Regions from separate parts of the Homo sapiens genome. Here regions 1 and 3 are each linked to region 2. The links are contacts of gene promoters, found by promoter capture Hi-C in blood cells and fetal thymus (Javierre and others, 2016). All regions are on one chromosome and are shown on one strand. The core of a region is centred on a gene start or on the middle of the fragment in contact, and the rest is flanking DNA. Distances in the headings are between cores, read along the strand shown.

Region 1 (4,760 bases), core at 27-2,526, 150 kb before region 2:
CACACCCGGCCGATAACAGCTATTAAATGAGTGGTACTAGAGGCCAGGGGGAGAAGACTGTAACAGCTGGGCGCTGTGCTAACTGCATGACAAGAATTACCTCATTTGCTCATCGCAACGATATAATGTATTACATACACTATCATTCCCTGTTTAAAGAGAAAGAAACAGGAACTTGGAGGGGTTAATCATTTCCCCAAGGTTACTCAATTAAAACATAGTATAGTCAGGATTACCCAAACTTGTGAACCTAGAGTCATTTTCGTTTAATAATTTAAGGTTTTCATAACATACTTTAACAGTTAAAATTTAAATTTAATATGTAGAACAAATTTTTCTTAAAATTCCAATGTTATAATAATACATTTAAACAATGACTCAAAACTTCTCTTTTATGGAAAATTTTCTAGGTGGTTTATTCAAACTCAGTGAAAGATGTAAAATCTAAAAGACGCCTTTACTTTCATTTGTAAACTACATACTCTTTTCAGATCTCTAGAGTTTGTTAGGTGATGGGTAGCCATAAATGAATTTAAAAATCGAAAAGCCACAAAAAGATTTATTCCCTAGCAAGACAAATGCTGCAACAATCTCTCAGTATCCTATCCATCAAGACATGTTCACAAAGAAAGCAAGCCTGTAACATATCCTGGCAGAGTGCTGCTGCTGCCACCTACCCAAGATATTAATTCCAGTTCTACATTCCATGCCAATGCAAATTAGAATCTGGCCACTGGTGGAAATGTACCCACTCAGGAGTACTAAAAGGGTTAGGAAGAATGGATTCCAGCAAATCCTAAACATCTGTTCTTGAATATGATATGTCCTACTATTTAACTTCCCTGCAATCAGGTACTAGCTACATATGGGAGTTTCTGTGATGGCAATGACCATGTTTTTCAAGTGTGGTTAATTACTGGTATACCTACTGGTATCCCCACTCCTTCCCCCCTAAAAAAATAGTCATTAGAAAAAAGAAGGGTGGCTGGGTGCAGAGGCTCATGCCTGTAATCCCAGCACCTTGGGAGGCCAAGGCAGGTGGATCACCTGAGGTCAGGAGTTCAAGACCAGCCTGGCCAACACGGCGAAACCCTGTCCCTGCTAAAAATACAAAAGTTAGCTGGGTGTGGTGGCAGGCACCTGTAATCCCAGCCACTTGGGAGGCTGATGCAGGAGAAAATTGCTTGAACTTGGGAGGCGGAGGTTGCAATGAGCCGAGATCACGCCACCGCACTCCAGCCTGGGCAACAAGAGCGAAACTCCATTTCAAAAAAAAGAAGAGTTCTTTAAACCTTGCATCTACTCAGTTGCCTGATTACAAGTGAAAAGAAACATTCTGCATATGCTTTAATGCTTCAGGCTGAAATAAGAGTTCAAAATGGCTTCTACATTTATGATGAAAAATACAGTATTTTTCAATAAAATCGATAAATCTGTTGTTTTTGTTAGAGATGAATACTTAACAAAGAAAACTACCAAGTTATAAAATGTAAAAATAAATACCCAGAAGTAGCCTTGAAGAAAGGAAAGGCATTCCTTGTTTCTGGTTAAAACATTCCAAGACTGCTGGCAGTGGGAGGCGGGGTGGGAGGCAGGTGGGGTGGGGGGATGGCACACACCTGTAATCCCAGCACTTTGGGAGGCCAAGGTGGACAGATCGCTTGAAGTCAGGACTTCAAGACCAGCCTGGCCAACATGGCAAAACCCCATCTCTAATAAAAATACAAAAAAAATTAGCTGGGCATGGTGGCACATGCCTGTAATCCCAGCTACTCGAGAGGTCGAGGCACAGGAATCGTTTGAACCCAGGAGGCGGAAGCTGCAGTGAGCCAAGATTGTGCCACTGCACTTCAGCCTGGGCAACAGAGCGAGACTCTGTCTCTAAAAAAAAGTTTTTCTCTGTAGCATGTGATGCTCAATAGCATTTTACCTATGGTAGACTTCCTTTCTTTTTTGTTTTTTTTTTTTAGACAGAGTCTCACTCTGTCACCCAGGCTGGAGTGCAGTGGCGCGATCTCGGCTCACTGCAACCTCCGCCTCCTGGGTTCCACGCCATTCTCCTGCCTCAGCCTCCCGAGTAGCTGGGACTATAGGCGCCCGCCACCACGCCCGGCTAATTTTTTGTATTTTTAGTAGAGACGAGGTTTCACCATGTTAGCCAGGATGGTCTCGATCGCCTGACCTCGTGATCCGCCTGCCTCGACCTCCCAAAGTGCTGGGATTACAGGCGTGTGCCACCGTGCTCAGCCAGTAGACTTCTTTCAAAAACAGAGACAACCCTCTCAAACCCTGCCACTGCTTTGCCAACTAAGTTTATATAATATTCCAAATCCTTCGTTGCCATTTCAACAGTGTTCACAGCATCTTCACCAGGAGTAGATTCCATCTCAAGAAACCACTTTCTTTGCTCATCCATAAGAATCGACTACTCACTCATCCAAGTTTTACCACAAGATTGCAGCAATTCAGTCAGTCACATCCTCAGGGCCCACGCTCACTGTAGTTTTCTTGCATATTATATCCACCATAACTACAGTTACTTCCACCACTGAAGTCGTAAACCCTTCAAAGTTATCCACGAGTGTTGGAATCAACTTCTTCTAAACTCCTCTTAATGTTAATATTTTGACCTCCTCCTATCAATTACAGTTGTTGTTACTGGCATCTAGAACGGAGAATTCTTTCCAGAAGGTTTTCGATTGACTACTCAGATCCATCAGAGGAATCATTATCTATGGCAAGTATAGCCTTAGGTGATGTTATTTCTTAATAATAAAATGTGAAAGTCAAAATTTCTCCTTGATCCATAGACTCCAGAATGGATGTTGTCTCAGCAGTCATGCAAACAACATTCACCTCCTTGTACATCCCCATCAGAGCTCTTGGGTGAAGGGGAGCATTATCAATGAGCAGTTTTTGAAAAGAATTTTTAAAGGAATCCTTTTTCCTAAGCAGTAGGTCTCAACAGTGAGCTTAAAATATTCAGTAAACCATACTGTAAATAGAGGTGCTGTCATTTAGGCTTTGTTGTTCTATTTACAGGACACAGGCAGAGCAGATTTAGTGTAATTCTTAAGAGGTCTGGGATTTTTGGAATGGTAAACGAGGATTGGCTTCAAGTCACCAGCTACATTAGTCACTAATCAGAGAGTCAGGCTGTCCTTTGAAGCTTCTAGCTATGAAAGTCCTAGATGGCATCTTCTTCCAATAGAAAGCTGTTTTATCTACATTGAAACTCTGTTGTTCAGAGTAGCAGCCTTCATCAGTGACCTTAGCTAGTTTTGGATAACGTGCTGCAGCTTCTACATCAGCACTTGCTGCTTTACTTGCATTTTTATGTTATGATGAAGAATTTTTTCCTTAAACCCCATGACCCAACCTCTGCTGGCTTCAAATTCTTCTTCTCCAGCTTCCTCACCTCTCAGTCTTCACAGAATTGAAGAGACTTAGGGCCCTGCTCTGGATTAGGCTTTGGTTTAAAGGAATGTTCTTGGTGGTTTGATATTCTATCTACGCCACTAAGACTTTCTCCATGGTATCAGCAGTAAAGCAGTAAGGCTGTTTTGTTTGTTTGTTTGTTTGTTTGTTTGTTTGTTTTTTAGACAAAGTCTCACTCTGTTGCCCAAGCTGGAGTGCAGTGGCACAATCTTGGCTCACTCCAACCTCTGCCTCCGAGGTTCAAAGGATTCTCTTGCCTCAGCCTCCCGAGTAGTTGGGAATACAGGCACACACCATCACACTTGGCTAGTTTTTGTATTTTTAGTAGAGATGGCATTTCACCATGTTGGCCAGGCTGGTCTCGAACTCCTGGTCTCAAGTAATCCACCTGCTGCGGCCCCTCAAAGTGCTGGGATTAAAGGCATGAGCCACTGCACCCAGCCTGTTTTGCTTTTTTTTATCATTCATGTGTGTTCACTGGTGTAGCTTTTTTTTTTTTTTTTTTTTTTTGAGACAGAGTCTCACTCTGTCACCCAGGCTGGAGTGTGGAGTAGCACTTTTAATTTCCTTCAAGAACTTTTCCTTTGCATTCACAACTTGGCTAACTGGGGAAAGAGGCGTGGCTTTTAGCCTATCTTGGCTTCTGACACGCCTTCCTCACTAGCTTCATTTCTTGCTTATGATTTAAAGTGAGAGACATGCTACTTTTCCTTTCACTTGAACACTTACCGGCCACTGCAGGGTTATTAACTGGCTTAAGTTCAATATTGTTGTGTCTCATAAAATAGGGAGACCCCAGGAGAGAGAAAGAGGCAGGGAAGGGACAGTCAGTGGAGCACTCAGAACACACAGCATTTATCAATTCAGTTTATCCTTTCATATGGGTACGGTTCGTGGCCCCAAAAACAATTACAATAGTTACCTCTAAGATCACTGATCACAGATCACTATAACAGATATTATAATAATGAAAAGGTTTGAAATGTTTCAAGAATTACCAAAATTTGACACAGAGACACTGTCCTGTTGGAAAAATGGCACCAAATGACTTACTCAACAGGGTTGCCACAAACCTTCAAATTTTTAAAAAACTAGATATATATGAAGTGCAGTAAAAACAAAGTACATTAAAATGAGGCAATTTTGTAATTCTAAAATTGGAAGTGCTGGCCAGGCCACACCTATAATAGCATCACTTTTGGGAGTCCGAGGTGGGAGGATTGTTTGAGGCCAGGAGATCAAGACCAGCCTTGGCAACATAGCGAGGCCTCATCTCTATTTATTTATTTATTTTTTATTTTTTACAAAGAACAGTAAAATGG
Region 2 (4,799 bases), core at 936-3,435:
AAATGAGATATTTCTTCAACTGGTTCAATCAACAGACAGTAGAAGGATTCTACGGAGAGAACACAGGAAATAAACCCTACAATAATGTTAGAGCAAACAATCGGCACTATAGTTCTGTCTTCTATTGCTTGTGATGCTTCTAGAAAGTATTTTTTAACGGCTTCCTGATGAATTGGCTCTTGGTATCAAGCCAGGCTCATCTCTGGCTCACATCTGCAAACTTTTCCCCATCCTCACGTCCTACAACAAATCCATCTTCAAGACCTGCAAAGTTCTTGGTCTCAGCGTTTCTCAGAACAGACCCTTCTTCATCTTCACAGACACGGGGTTGGGGATCCCATTCCTGGGTTGCGAAATGACCTTCTCCTTAGAATGACCCAAAGTGCAAAGGCATCTTCCTGAAATAAAGCTTTCATCAAGCCATTTCTGCTATGGAAACCTCCAGGGATTCCATTGCTTATGGGATCCAATTTAAATGCTGCAGTTGAGATCCCCATTGTTTCAGTGGGCAAGTGCATTATACTTCTTCACAGACTTTAAACCTCCACATTCGAGATTTTGCTACTAGGAATGTTTTGCCCTTTCTCTGTGCCAACTCATGGCCATCAGCACCTCCAATTCTGTCTTGAAACTCACTTTCTTACAGATATTTTTCTTGTTTAATATCTACTTAGTAGATACTAAACAGCAAAGTAGCAGTATCTACCCAGTAGACACTAAATAGCAAAATAGATACTGAATAGCAAACTATTTAGTAGATACTAAAGTAGCAAATAACTCCTGTTTTTGAGCTTTTAATCACATTTAGTGCTCTTAAGATAAATTATCCAAGTCTGGGGATAAACAACTCACAGAGATTTTCATTCTTTAAGAAGCCACCGAGAGTGATTTTACTTAAAAGACAGCACTCACATTTTCAGTTGTCTGCCTTTTCACTAGGAATCCACTTAAGAACCAGCGCAAAAGGACTCCGTTTGGCGACCTCTAGCGGGCACCGGACAATCCTACAAAATTACGAAAAGTAGAGGGCAATGAAAAACTCTTCCCTTTAACCAGCCAGGTTACCCTGTGGTCAGATGACCGCATCTCACCCTACCCCACCCTTATTTTTTTCTTCTAGTATTTGTTTTGCATCTAACACGGTTCGCCTTACAACTCACCTGTCTCGCCTCCGGCGGGCTGGGCTGCCGGTGTCGGGTGTCAGGTGAATGAATTGCTGGTAGCAGTTTAAAATAATCCCTGCCAAGTGGAACCCGCTTTCTGGGCACGGACAAGAGCGCGGGGTAGATCGCTCTGCGGAGCCTTCACGGGGCTCTTCCCGCTCGGAGGGCCGGTGCTGCAGCCGGGTCAGGGGTGCGCGGGGGAAATCAAGATATTTTGAAAAGGAGGATGCAGACGAAGACCAAGAGAAAGGCTGTTTTTGCCGGTGACAAGGCGTTCCTCCCCAGACTTTCATCCCACTCTAAGGGCAGCATCTCGAGAGGGTCCAGGCGCGCTACACGTTAGGCGCCTTCTCAGGACTCGCGCCCCAGAACGTGGGGGCCGGGGCCGGGTCGGGGACCGCTTCCCTCCGCGGGCTGGCAGGCGGCACCGAGGCTGGGGGATGGGGCGTGTAGCCGCCCTCTGAGCACGCGGTACGTGGGTCGCCCCGCGCGGCGGTAGGAAGAGCAAAGTCGGCAGGAAAAGCCGTGGCTGGGATGCCTTCCCTGAGAAATCCTTAGGGGCGATGTCAGAACCCGAGCTGGGCTCCGGACAGTTTCTGGAAAAAGCTCTCCAAACGCCGTCTGTCCCCGCACCCGAGTCCACACTGGGCTTTGAACCAGGGCTGTTAAAAGGGGCCCTGGGGACTGCCCAATTCATCCCGATGGCCCAGGGCAGGACGCGGGAGCAGGCATCCCGGCGCTGGGCTCCCCGCTCCCCCGCCCTGCGGACCCCTCCCCGCCACTACGGGCCGGAGCGGAGGGGGAGGACGGCGTCACGAGGCGGGGAGCCCGAGGTCCAGGGCGGGGCGCCCGGGAATCCCAGCCCGAGCAAGCCGGGGAGGTGCGGGCGCGGGCGGGAAGCGGAGGGCGGCGCGGAGGGAGGTGAGCGGCGCGCGCGGAGCCGGCGGGCGAGGAGGAGGACTGCACAGAGGCCCCGCCCCCGCCGCCGCGAGCCGGCTCTTCGCCGCCTCCGAACCCGCTCACTTTGCCTCTCGCCTCTGGACGGCGGCGGGGCGGCCGCCGGATTCGCGGCCGCAGGGAGCGCCGGAGACGGGGAGCTATTCCGCCCCGGCGGCTCCATTCGGCGCCCGCAGCCCTCAGGGGGTCGGCCCCGCGGCTTGGGAGAGGGCACCGCGGCCTCGGTGTGCGCAGCCCTCGGGCGCGAGGGTCGGCGGCGCGGACACAGCCGCGTTCCCAGCCGGTGGGGCTCAGCGCTGGCGCCGGCGAGGACTCCCCGGCCACCCGCAGGTACCGCCGGGCGGAGGGCGCGCTACTAGCAGCGCCGGAGATACTCGAGCCCAGGGACCCCCGGGCCAGCGGAGGGCAGGAGCGGAGCCCCGAGGGAGCGCGGGCCCCGACGGCGCGCTCCCCCGTCAGCCACGGGCAGGCAGGCCCCGCGTGGCGGCTTGGGGTGGGGGGCTGCAGCGGGGCCCTCGGGCCGAAAGTCCCCCGGGCGGCCAGCCATGACCTTCGGGCGCAGCGGGGCGGCCTCGGTGGTGCTGAACGTGGGCGGCGCCCGGTATTCGCTGTCCCGGGAGCTGCTGAAGGACTTCCCGCTGCGCCGCGTGAGCCGGCTGCACGGCTGCCGCTCCGAGCGCGACGTGCTCGAGGTGTGCGACGACTACGACCGCGAGCGCAACGAGTACTTCTTCGACCGGCACTCGGAGGCCTTCGGCTTCATCCTGCTCTACGTGCGCGGCCACGGCAAGCTGCGCTTCGCGCCGCGGATGTGCGAGCTCTCCTTCTACAACGAGATGATCTACTGGGGCCTGGAGGGCGCGCACCTCGAGTACTGCTGCCAGCGCCGCCTCGACGACCGCATGTCCGACACCTACACCTTCTACTCGGCCGACGAGCCGGGCGTGCTGGGCCGCGACGAGGCGCGCCCCGGCGGGGCCGAGGCGGCTCCCTCCAGGCGCTGGCTGGAGCGCATGCGGCGGACCTTCGAGGAGCCCACGTCGTCGCTGGCCGCGCAGATCCTGGCTAGCGTGTCGGTGGTGTTCGTGATCGTGTCCATGGTGGTGCTGTGCGCCAGCACGTTGCCCGACTGGCGCAACGCAGCCGCCGACAACCGCAGCCTGGATGACCGGAGCAGGTACTCCGCCGGCCCTGGGAGGGAGCCCTCCGGGTAGGACGCACTGCTTCTCTACCCGTCCCGTCCGTCCTGTCGCGTCTGTCCGTCCCGTCCATACGTCCCGTCTCCGTCCTGTCCGCCTCCGGGCGACCGAGCCAGCGGGGTGCGCGCCCAGCGAGGCCCAGGCGCGGCCAACTACGGGACCGGTCGGTCCCCACTCCTACCCCGTTGTCCGGGGCACCAGCGGGGTCTGGCCCTTACACTAGACGCACCTCTTGAGGGCGAAATCCTCAGGCATGGGGAGGGGCGTGTAGAGATAGACAAATGTCCCCTCTTTGTAGTTTACTTTTGCGCAGAGAGCAACCTGCTAATTACATTTTTCTGAACTTTTATTGTTAGGGTTCAACAATTAAGCCTTGAACTAAGCGCAGTTTGAATTATTTGCCAATTTTTGGTAGTGTTTGGAAAGATGGATTCTTGTTATGGTGAAATGTGCACTCTCCACACATTCTATACACTCTGCCCCCGGCATACTATGTGCTGTAATGGAATCGTTATATTATAAAGCAGGTTAATTTATCGATAGACTCTAAATAATGGATGTCTGTGCCCTTTTCTTCCCCCTTTTCCTACAAAGTATGGAGTTAGCAAACCTCTTGTCCACCGTTTGGTAGCAAAGATTCACACTGCGACTTTCAGAGGGTCTATGATATGGGAAGGGAAAAAACCATTACCTTGAGAACAAAGAAAAATCTAAACTGTCCTAAATCCAGAAAACAGTATTTGGGTAAATTTTTTTTTCTACTTTACTAGGATGAATGGGAAAATATTGCAGTCTTTTCTTAGACTGTCTTACCTTGAAGTGGTGATAGCACTTTCCTGTTTTTAGTACAAGTGAGCATATTCAGTGGGAGGAATAAGCAGACTAAGGATGGACTTTCAAAGAAGACAGCCTTTTGGGGCACAAAACCCAAACTGCATATTATAGTTTATCTGTTTGACACTGTCTTAAGATCCTCCTTCCATTCATTTTTTAAATTTAAGGTTGTGCCCTGTCATGTTTTACTGATAGGCATGTACATGTTCGGAACGGCGGCCTTGCTATTGCAGTGGATTACTTCTACATAATATTCTTCCTGTAGGGAGTAAGGATTTTTATATAAATCTAAGAAGTAAATAAAATTGTCTAGTGCCACGGAGTCTATTATTTCTTCTTGGCTTGAAATCGAAGATACATGCTTTGAAAGGAAATTCATTAGGAAACTCATTTTGTTTAGTGAATTAGGTTCTAACAGTTTTGAATTTACAGATAAGAGTTACTTATTTGGTTCTCCAACAATACAATGAAATTAATTTATTTACCTAAATACATAAATGCCTTTTTTTTTTAAGGAGGGCTTTAGGAAAATGGACTTGGAATTTTGATTCTCCAGTAACTGTAGAATTCTAAGGTTAGTGAAGGTTTGAGCTACATTAGCAAAGGAAACAGGAGAATTGAATTATTATTAGTGCAGATAATGAGG
Region 3 (4,686 bases), core at 201-2,700, 220 kb before region 2:
CAAAGCGAGACCCTGTCTCTACAAAAAACAAATAAAATAAAAAATTAAAACCTATAATTATTTTAAGATAAGTTATAAACCAGTTTGATCTCATTTTAATAAGTAAATAAATCTTCTATTTAAAAAGAGGTGAGGTGAGTTAGAAACAGGGAAGGGATCTGAAGAAGAATATTAAGACTATTCATCCTAAGTACTAACTGAATGCTTTTCATTTTCTTTTTTGCTTAATCTGTATTTATTTCCATGAATATATATTACATTTTTATTCGATGGCTTTTTGGAAAAAGTAGACATATATCATAAATCTGTGTGTGTATGTGTGTGTGTTGTGTGTGCTGGTAATAAAAGTTTCTGAAACAAAATAAACTGACTATATAAAGGTATCCAATTTCGGCTATTTGAAGGGCCTGAATTAGTTTAGGTATGTCCATTTAGAATTGCCAAATATCTATACTATTCAGAAATTGCTCTTTGAGTTTTTCCTCTATTAGAAAATACCCACCTAAATACCCAATGATACATGCCAAAGGCTTCCTAGTGCTTTTGCTTTTCAGTGGACTTCCAGATAGTTCAGCATGTCTGTCTGCATCTGAGGAGAGAAAGAAACATGGAGATAACCAATGAAATGGATTTCTCTAGCCAGACTACATGCACCACAGAAATAAAGGTACAAGTGGAAAACAGTACAAAATAGCCACCAGATTCCCGCATAATTTCCTTTTGGGTTTGAGAAAATGGTTTCTAGTTCTGGTTCCCAATTTCTAAATGGGATTTACATAAAATAACATGTAATTATTAGTAGTAGTATTATTTTGAGACGGAGGCTCACTCTGTCACCCAGGCTGAAGTACAATAGCGTGCTCTCAGCTCACTGCAACCTCCACCTCCTGGGTTCAAGCAATTCTCCTGCCTCAGCCTCCTGAGTATCTGGGATTACAGGTGCACACCACCATGCTGGGCTAATTTTTGTGTTTTTAGTAGAGATGGGGTTTCACCATGTTGGTCAGGCTGGTCTCGAACTCCTAATCTTGTGTTCTGCCCACCTGCTCATGCCTGTAATCCCAGCACTTTGGGAGGCCAAGGAGGGTAGATCACCTGAGGCCAGGAGTTCAAGACCAGCCTGTCCAACATGGAGAAACCCCATCTCTACTAAAACACAAAATTAGCTGGGCATGGTGGCACATGCCTGTAATCCCAGCTACTCGGGAGGCTGAGGCAGGAGAATTGCTTGAACCCAGGAGGTGGACATTGCGGTGAGCCAAGATCACGCCATTGCACTCCAGCCTGGGCAACAAGAGCGAAACTCCATCTCAATAATAATAATAACAATAATAATTTACATGCAAGAGAATACAGACAGCACTCTTCAAGGACATTACCACCATTATCTAGGTCATGCCTACAATAACCATGTGATGTTTTCATGGGCTATCAAAAGAACTCGTTAACCCCTAGAAATAAAGCGAAAAAAAAAAAAAAAAAGGTACCAGAGTAATATGGAAAACACTCACTTTAAAGCCCCATATGGGTATAGCTAATACACATCCAACACACTCATGCTTTTTTATTGCGTGTGCCCATCTCAGAAATATGCTTCATTTCTAGCCATGGCATTTCTACATTATAGCAGAAATAATCGCCGTAAAGCACAAGGTGGAATCAGTCTTAACGTAAGATTGAAATGACATGGAAGATAAATGACAGCTGCTAAAGGCAACAAACTTCGCCATCTCTGACCTAGATGGGCCATACTTGGCCATCCCTTCCCCACTGTGAAGGCTTAACCTATCTTGGCAAAACTCAATTGTTAGGCTAGGGATTTGCAAGAGTAATAATGGGCCATTTGGTTTTATCACTGGTTTTCTAACCCTGATCAAGCTATGTCATTCATTGGTGCTGAGATTTAAAAGGCTACCTGTGTGCAAACAGAGTATTTCATCCAACAGTCAGAACAGTAAGAAACAGTGAGGATGGGTATTAGCTAATCAGTTTTCATGATGCTCATTATACCCTATTGTAAGACATTTTCAGACAAAAATAAAGCATACAATACAAACATTCTGTGTTTTAATTAGCTGTCATTTGGAAGAGTAGATGTGCAAGACAAAGGGACAAAACAAAACGTGTATTGAAACACTTTAATACTGTCATAAATATTAACAGAATCACTTTAACCTGTATGATTCTACTATGTTTATGCCTTTTTCCCACCTTCAAATATTTGACAAAAATGTCCTACAGGTTTTCTGATTTACTGAAGAATTTTTCCTTTTGCAAACTGAGACATTTCTGGGCATACACACAGGGAATTTCCTTTGATACCCACAGGAATTATTTGCTCTACTAGAGTTAAAATGTGCAAGTCTGGAACTTCAAATAATTTTAAATAAAAGTTAGGTTTTTATGAGTTCTAGCCCTTTCACCAAAAAAAAAAAAAAAAAAAAAAAAACTCTTTTCTGAAAATTATTAAACCGAAGATGGCAAAAGAGCATTTTTTAAAAATTCTCATTGTGGTTAAAAAAAACACAATGAGATACTATTTCACACTAGTCAGAATTGCTATCATTAAGTCAAAAAATAACAGATGCTGGCAGAGAAAACAGGTTGAAGAGAAAAAGAAATGCTATACACGGTTGATGGGAATACAAATTAGTTCAACCATGTGGAAAACAGTGTGGTGATTCCTCAAAGAGCTAGAAACAGAACTATCACCCAACAATCCCACTACTGGATATATACCCAAAGGAATATAAATCATTCTATCATAAAGACACATGCATGTATATGTTCATTGCAACACTATTCACAATAGTAAAGACATGGAATCAACCTAAATATCCACCAATGATAGACTGAATAAAGAAAATGTGGTACATGTACACCATGAAACACTATGCAGCCAGAAGAAAAGAACGATATCATGTCCTTTGCAGGAACATGGATGGAGCTGGAGGCCACTATCCTTAGCAAACTAATACAGTAACAGAAAACCAAATACTGCATGTTCTCACTTATGAGTCGGAGCTAAATGATGAGAACTCATGGATGCACAGAGGGGAGCAACAGACACTGGGGCCTATTGGAGGGTGGAGGGTGAGAGGAGGGACAGTATCAGGAAGAATAACTAATGGGTACTAGGCTTAATAATTGGATGATGAAATAATCTGTACAACAAACCCCCTTGACACAAGTTTACCTATATAACAAACCTGCACATGTACCCCTGAACTTTTTTAAAAGTTAAAAAATAAGTTTAAAAACATTAAAATAGACAAAGCACATACTGCAGAGAGCCTAAAACAATCAGGAATCTGAAAATATAGCACCCAGATATTGGCTAATTATTATGCAACCACTGACAAGTATAAATGATCCAATTTCTTTTCTTCCTATTCAGGTGATTCCCAGGAGAAAAAATAAATTACTAAGCTATGAAGCTTTTCACCTATTGTTGAATAATAGTGAAGATACAGGCAGAAATATAATAAACATCTTGTGGAAGAGTAATCTAAATAAACACTAGGAAGCAACCCAAAGCCTGTAAGGATCAAACGCCTGCCAAACCATTGAGTTAACACTACATAATTTCTTGCTAATATTACTGATTCACCTGAAATTCAAGTTATATTTGGGATAAGGACAAGATAAATTTTTCTTTCTTCTCTATTAATAAAGCTGGAATGAGTCATCTTGGTTATTTCCTCAATGTCTTGACAAAGGCAATCACCATATTACTAGTAATAAGATTTGCCTTTTATTCCAGTCTAGATGACCCAAAGGAAAACTGCCAATATGGCAGCAATTGATAGACATTGATGGCTATCATCAACAAATCCATCAAAGAGGTCACCAACACAATACCCAAAGATACTTCATTTTAAACTATATTTGCTTCTAATTTCTCATTAAAAATAGGAGGATTAATTATATGATGTTCTAAGTGACAATTTGCATTACAGAGTACCTCTGAATGGGAGATCAAAGCTTTTTAGAAAGAAGCATATTTCACTAATCCTCATAATATTTTATAGAAAGTTCCAGCTACTCAGGAGGAGGAGGAGGGAGGATCCCTTGAGTTAGAGGCTATAGTGAGCCATGATCACGCTACTGCACTCCAGGCTGGGTGACAGAGCAAGACCCTGTCTCAAAAAAAAAAAAAAAAAAAAAAAAGTAGTTGGTGGCAAGAATTATGTCTCAACTGTGAAAAAATTAGAGTGAAAAGATTCTAGGACTGCCTTAGTCACTCTTTAACATAAGAAAAGTTGTTGCCATTCAGTAGGAAAAATACAGTTGGCCCTGAGGAAATAGCCATAGGTGGGATTGTCTGGCCCACACTTGAGTTGGTTAGAAGGAATGCTGGGCTGCACTCAATGCCAGGCCAACAATGCTGCCACTTGTCAGACAGTCCTTGCTCCCAAATTACTCACCTAACTCCACTTCAACAGGGAGATATGCATTTGAAGTCACAGATAATGAAAGCAATCTGAGAAATCCCCAAAGAACCCAGAAGGAATCAAAACCTGTCCAGAGAGAACATCTATATCTCACTCAAGTCACTTGACTGGTCACAAGGAACATGTCTTTAGTTTCCTAGAGCAGGGGTCCCCAAGCCCCAGGCCTCAGACCAGTACTAGTGGTAGCAAGTTAGGAACTGGGCCGGACAGCAGGTGAGCATTACCGCCTGAG

The links. The method cuts DNA at HindIII sites, captures the fragments that hold promoters and counts their contacts. A CHiCAGO score of 5 or more calls a contact.
Region 1: a fragment that was not itself captured here is called in contact with the fragment with the promoter of KCNG3 in region 2 in 12 of 17 cell types (fetal thymus, naive CD4 T cells, naive CD8 T cells and 9 more); the score reaches 13.4 in fetal thymus.
Region 3: a contact is called between a fragment that was not itself captured here and the fragment with the promoter of KCNG3 in region 2, in 1 of 17 cell types (fetal thymus). The highest score is 6.9, in fetal thymus.

What each region holds. Positions count from the first base shown.
Region 1 is chr2:42,644,364-42,649,123 of GRCh38, reverse strand. The region is part of intron 6 of MTA3 (metastasis associated 1 family member 3); the gene reads right to left. Among named protein-coding and RNA genes, the nearest start is that of MTA3, 78 kb to the right of the region's middle. The HindIII fragment of the contact is 3,791 bases long and covers 1-3,171 here.
Region 2 is chr2:42,491,368-42,496,166 of GRCh38, reverse strand. It overlaps KCNG3 (potassium voltage-gated channel modifier subfamily G member 3), which reads left to right and starts at 2,185. Exons shown (of 2, transcript NM_133329.6): 1 at 2,185-3,330. The coding sequence starts at 2,666. It also overlaps a transcript of MTA3 not described here. RefSeq lists enhancers at 864-1,158, 2,483-3,240, 3,241-3,998 and silencers at 1,913-1,992, 2,083-2,132, 2,313-2,402. The HindIII fragment of the contact is 17,203 bases long and covers 412-4,799 here.
Region 3 is chr2:42,714,891-42,719,576 of GRCh38, reverse strand. It overlaps MTA3 (metastasis associated 1 family member 3), which reads right to left. Exons shown (of 17, transcript NM_001330442.2): 15 at 503-589. Among named protein-coding and RNA genes, the nearest start is that of OXER1, 47 kb to the left of the region's middle. The HindIII fragment of the contact is 3,978 bases long and covers 1-3,439 here.